Regions from separate parts of the Homo sapiens genome. Here region 2 is linked to region 1. Evidence: promoter capture Hi-C in 16 types of primary human blood cells and fetal thymus (Javierre and others, 2016). All regions are on one chromosome and are shown on one strand. Each heading gives the region's core, a stretch centred on a gene start or on the middle of the fragment in contact. The rest is flanking DNA. Distances are from core to core; before and after follow the strand shown.

Region 1 (3,047 bases), core at 266-2,765:
ACAAACTTATGTGAATCTCTTACTTCTGCACTAACCTGAGGCACTGGGTAAAAGCTGTTCGTTGGAGCAAAGATTGCACCCCCTCTTACTCCTCCTCAAACAAGACGAAGTTACCCAGGGGTTAGAGGCTAGATTCTGTTCTAAAGGCCTGGGGATATAAGGAAATCCTCTTTCAACTATGCCTTTGAGGGAGGGGAGTCTTCATTACCATCTCCCTAGGTCAGGTATTACAACCTTCTTCACCTCCCAAGAAAATCAGATTAGCTTTGCAAACCAAAGCTGGAGATAGCAGAAGCTCCTCGGGAGAGAAGCAGTACAGTACTTAGGGACCCACGGAATCTAGGATCCAGCTCCAAGAGTCACTCAGCAGCAACTCTGGGGCAAAGGCAGAGAGTGCAGTTGTGTGATCTGGACCCACACAAGTCCCAGGAAACCAGTGACTCCTCCTTGCCAAACCCAAGGCCTGGAAGGGTATTCCAGAAAGGCATTAGGGAGGGATTGGGCTGGGGTCAGCCGGAGGTCAGCTTTCAGAGATGGGTAGTCAAGGGGGTGATGGTACCCTCCATAATGCCTAGGCAATGAAGATAGAATTTTTAATGTCCAGAACTCTGATTCCTTTCCGATTAAAAACTCCACCTGAACCAGCTCCTTGACTCAGAGGCCCTGGAACTGACAACTTTGCAGCTCGTCTAGCTTGCCAGTGCGGCTCTCTAAACTCTGATCCATCCTAAAACAAATATGTAAGTAGAGAGTGCCACTGTGCATTGGGGTGAAATCTCAGAGAGTTCTGGGCCCCAGGAAAATAACTTTCCTGACCTCCTTTCCCTACTCTTTGTTCTTTCTACTGGACTCCAGAACTTAGGGTCTGGGGTCAACCATAAGCACTCAGATGTTACAGCTCGCTTGCTTCGGTGACCCTGGCCCTCCCGCACCAGGAATTAACCAGCGCTGCCTGGGTTAACACCCTGGCCCCGAGCACGCTTGGATAGCCAGGAGCTGCTCCACACTCGGGGTCTGCCGCCTCTGGAAAGAGATTCTGGGAGGAGATGCGACTCTGTCAGGCGCCAAAGTGCGTTGAAACCCAAGCCGCGGTGTGGGGATCCCGGTGCACAGAGCTACTGCCCCTCCCTCCCTCCTCCCAAAGAGCACGGGCTGTGTCCTAGGAGCCCAAGTATAGGACCTCGAAACGTGCGGTGCCAGCCCGCTCTCATCTGCTAGGGACCGTTTCCTCCAGTGCGCCAGGCGTGCCGCTCTGGACCTAAAAAGGCAGCAGGGGTCGCGCGGGACTGAAGAGGAGGGGACGCAGGTTGGGAGAGGCCGGGTCCAAGCGAGAGCAGCTGCCAAAGTCTGCTGCCCGGGTCAGCAAAAACTTTGTCTTTCATTGCGCAGGCGCAGGGCAGGGTTGGGGGGCAGGGGAGGGAGGGGAGGAATCCTGAGGCAAGGGGCGGGGGTGGGGGTGGTGGAGGAGGGAGGGTGGTGGATTAAAATAAGTAGGCGGCTCGGTGCTAAGGGATGAGTGAGTCGGAGCTCGGCCTCTCCCCGGCACGTTCTCAGCTGCTCCTGGTTCAGACCCAGCGAGGGAGCCGCGAGCGAGGCTCACCGTCCCCGGCGTGCAGGATCCGGGGCTGCTGAGCGCTCGCTCCCGCGTGTCCGGCGCTTGGAGTCCCCGCGGCAGGAGAGGAGTCGGGACACTAGAGCTCCAGGGGCGCCTGTGGGCTCCAGGGCCTCCGGCTTCCCCAGTCCCCTTCAGCTAAAGCCCCAGAGACGTGCTCAGCCCCAGGACCTCTGCGGAACAAGGTAATTGCAGTCCTGGGCGCCTGGGCTCAGCAAAGCGAATGCGGGCAGGACTCCCAGGTTCCTTGTCACTGCTCGGCGGGTGCCTCCTCTCTCTCAATGCCCCTGAAGGAAGCTCTTGCCAAACGAATGCTGTAGGACTTTTGTGAAAGTGAGAGCAGGGTGGTTGGGGGTGCTGCCTCAGGACTTCCTGCGCGGGGTCCTCGGCCTCTGACCGCTGGGGATTAAGGGGGGCGGGCCTCCGCTACTGCGGCCAGCCCGCCCGGCTCTGCGGAATCACGGGCGAGGTGCCCACGGACTTTGAAAGTCAATCTGTGGGCCCCCTTTAAGAAACCAGAGCAACTTCAGCGGGCACAAACTTTCCTGAGACGCGCTCCTAGCTCTGGCTGACGCCCAGGTTGACGAAGAAGGAAGGGAGAGGGAGTGAATGGCCACAGCCGCAGCCGACCGCGCCAGGGACAGGTGCATGCCCCAGCTCGGTAGCGCTTTCGTTCAAGTTTGTCTTTTGAGGAGTTGCGCTCTAGTATGAGGCCGCCTAGACCCGAGAGCGCAGGGCTGCGAGTCTGAACCCCGCCTTGCACTCGCGCTCTAACTTAGGGATATTCTCCATAGGATGATTGCTCTGTGTCGTCAAGGCCTGGAGCGGAACCCTTGATTGTCCTGGTGCAGGGAGGCAATGCAGTGGGCGCAAGCACTGCTTTCCAATTCGAGACCCACACACAGCACTAGTGGAAACTCTGTGGAGCCCTAGGGTCTCCGGGCTGGGGACAGGAAAAGTTCTGTTACTCCCCTGACTGTCCGCTAATCCAGCCGTCAGGAGAGAAAGAAGGGGGAAAGGGGTGAAGGGCTGCCTGCTGAACTAATTTCTCCTCGGAAATGTCTCGGAGAAGAATGAAAAACCACGTTTAGTCCTTTTTCAGCAGCTCAGGCAGTAGCGGGTTGGGTTCTCAATGTGTAAAGTAGCCGCAAGGGTTTCTTTGTTGCCACAATTTGGTAAATTTCACCCAGGCTAAGAGCTGCGCATTGGCTCTGCGGAACAAAACCACGTGCAAGGCTAGGTGTCCCAGGTTCACAACCCCCTAGGGAAGAGAAGCGCTGGAGGGGACTAGCAGCGACCGGCGGCGTGTAGATGTTCCATCCCAGGCTCCTCGAGGTAATTGCTGTTTTATTAAGATTGGGGAATGGATCACCGAGGACGCAGCGGACATTTAAGTGCAGCCGGATGACCGCCTTGCCAATGGGTTCGTTAGATC
Region 2 (3,047 bases), core at 334-2,833, 1.6 Mb after region 1:
GAAGTAATTAGAACTTAGCACAGATATTTTCTTCAACTGCTGATAGTCATTAGGGTGGAATATTCACTAATTGAAAACTATTTTTAAAAGTGAGTAGAAAATAAAATTTCAGAAGAGGAGAAAAATGGCATAATTTTTTAACTAAAATTAAAAAGAAAAACAAATTCAAAGCAAATATGATAGAAGCTTATATCCTTAATACATAAAGAACTTGCACAAAAGAAAAATTAAAACCTCAAGAGGTAAGTAGGTAAAGGACATGATGATAGCCATTACCCAAAGGGAGACTAAAAATAGATGAAATGTTTAACATTACTATTAAAAGACAAATGCATATTAAATATCTTTGTTGTTGCACACTAAATATTACAAAGACAAGCCTCCTAACATCCAATGTTCTTGTGAGTGCACCGACACTGCTTCTCTGACATCTGCATTAGCAGAAATTAATCAGCAAGAGCAATAAAATCATTCCAAAACTTTGACCCATCAATCCAACATTGGGTAATTTTATCTAAAATTTCAAATCACAAGAAAACATTATATACACAAAAAATGTTAATCACACTTCCATGTATAGTAGAGAAAAACTAAAAAAGTAAATAACATATACAATCAGGGGTATGATTCATAGCTTCATACATGTTGCACAACCACTACAAGTTATGATTTTGATTAGAATGTGACAAAAGGGAAATATGACAACATGAAGCATTAAGTGAAAAGGCTAGGTTAAAAATCATGTGTACTACTACAACTCTTTAAAAATACACACATTTGAAAACAGACAAAAAAGGCCAGGCACAGGGGCTCACACCTGTAATCCCAGCACTTCAGGAGGCCGAGGCAGGCGGATCACGAAGTCAGGAGATCGAGACCATTCTGGCTAACACAGTGAAACCCTGTCTCTACTAAAAAAAAAACAAAAAAAACTTAGCCAGGTGTGGTGGCGGGCGCCTGTAGTCCCAGCTACTCGGGAGGCTGAGGCAGGAAAATGGTGAGAACCCAGGAGGCGGAGCTTGCAGTGAGCCGAGATTGCGCCACTGCACTCCAGCCTGGGTGACAGAGCGAGACTCCATCTCAAAAAAAAAAAAAAAACAACCAAAAAAAGAAAACAGAAAAAAAAAAGCTTCCTATTGTTTTAATTATATACTATAGATGATTTCTTTCTTAAGTTTCATACAAATATAAAATATAGCAATATTAAAGTAACATATAAATAATATATTATAATGTAACGACAGTTTTTAAAATTACAAGCCCTAAGGGAAGCCAAATATATATTCTGTATATGAACTATCATGAATTCTGAATGAGTGAAGTACGAATTAATGAGATCTCATGTATTCTGGGACTTCTTTAAGTCCTGAAGGTGTTATAAAAGGTAATATGATCAAGTTCCTACCATGTACTAGTTGCTTTAGATATACTTTCTCTTATTTTTATCACATCCCTGCTGAGTATTACTGTTGTCATTTCACAAGGTAACATACAAGGTAGAGATAGGTTACAAATTTTGCTCAGTGTCTCAGAGTTTCTACATACCAGTGCCAAGAATGAAACTCAGGTCAATTTCACTCTAAAAAATAAACTCTTTTCTCTAGGCACATCCCTGCTAGTCACAATAAAATTAATAAGTATTAAAGATGACAAACTATTAAGAGTAAAATGCACCCTTTAATTCAAATCGGAATTACTGAATCAAATCTGAATGCTCACCTCTCTTAAGACTGATTTAAAATGTGATCTCCCTGTTTTCTGAGACCACGATTTTCCAGAAGACCCATACCGAGACTGATTCCTCTTGCTTATGACATCAGCTTTCAGCTTTGGTGGTTCCCCTTCCATAACAAATACCAGTTTTACATCCATTTGTGTTAAATATGAGATACGAAAAAATAAGTTCCTGAAATATATAAATTAGTAATACATTAATCATCAAACACTGATAGTAAAAGTCAAAATAGTATAACACAAAGGCAAGAACATTAGACTAGTATCAAAAACGTTAATGTAATAACATTTTACTTAAGCTTTAATTAGAGTGGAAAACCACTGAATTTTCTTTTTCTTTGACAGAGTCTCACTCTGTCACCCAGGCTGGAGTGCAGTGGCATGATCTTGTCTCAGTGCAGCCTCAATCTCCTGGCTCAAGTGATCTTCCTGCCTCAGTCCCCAAGCAGCTGGGACTACAGGTGTGTGCCACCATGCCCGGCTAATTTTCTGTATTTTTTGTAGAGATGGGGTTTCACCATGTTGCCCAGGCTGGTCTTGAACTCCTGAGCTCAAATAATCCGCCCATCTCAGCCTCGCAAAGTGCTAGGAATACAAGTGTGAGCCACTGTGCCCGGCCAAAACCACTGATTTTTTTTTTTTTTTTGAGGTGGAGTCTCACTCTGTTGCCCAGGCTGGAGTGCAGTGGTGTGATCTCGGCTCACTGCAACCTCCACCTCCCAGGTTCAAGTGATTTTCCTGCCTCAGCATCCCAAGTAGCTGGGATTACAGGCATCTGCCACCACACCCAGCTAATTTTTTTTTATTTTTAGTAGAGATGGGGTTTCTCCATCTTGGCCAGGCTGGTCTCAAACTCCTGACTTTGTGATCCACCTGCCTCGGCCTCCCAAAGTGCTGGGATTACAGGCGTGAGCCACTGCACGCGGCCAAACCACTGAATATTTTTAAGCAAGAAAGATTTATGATTATTCTAATTGCTATGTGGAAAATAGTCTGGGGTAGGGGAGGCCAAGAGCAAGAAACTAGTGAAGATGGCACTTCAGGAGTATAGATGAGAGATGAGGTTGGCATAGACTGAGGTGGTGCCTCTGGACACTGAGATAAGTTTGTGAACACAAAGTATATTTTGGAGGTAGAACTGGCAAGACTTACTGACGGATTAGATGTGGAGAGAAGTAAAATAGGGAGAAAATGTCTCCCAAATCTCCGGCTTTTAGTATCTGAAGCATCCTAGTGGATACGTTAAGTAGGAGATAGCTATGTGAGTCTGGAGCTCAAAGGGTAAGAGGTACGAATGTGAGTCCTTAATATAA

What was found. The method cuts DNA at HindIII sites, captures the fragments that hold promoters and counts their contacts. A CHiCAGO score of 5 or more calls a contact.
Region 2: a contact is called between a fragment that was not itself captured here and the fragment with the promoter of OSR1 in region 1, in 1 of 17 cell types (activated CD4 T cells). The highest score is 7.4, in activated CD4 T cells.

The regions. Positions count from the first base shown.
Region 1 is chr2:19,357,091-19,360,137 of GRCh38, reverse strand. OSR1 (odd-skipped related transcription factor 1) reads left to right here and starts at 1,515. Exons shown (of 3, transcript NM_145260.3): 1 at 1,515-1,797. RefSeq lists enhancers at 1,643-2,171, 2,837-3,047. The HindIII fragment of the contact is 8,359 bases long and covers 1-3,047 here.
Region 2 is chr2:17,760,255-17,763,301 of GRCh38, reverse strand. It overlaps GEN1 (GEN1 Holliday junction 5' flap endonuclease), which reads right to left. Exons shown (of 14, transcript NM_001130009.3): 3 at 1,720-1,906. Among named protein-coding and RNA genes, the nearest start is that of GEN1, 7.6 kb to the right of the region's middle. The HindIII fragment of the contact is 904 bases long and covers 1,132-2,035 here.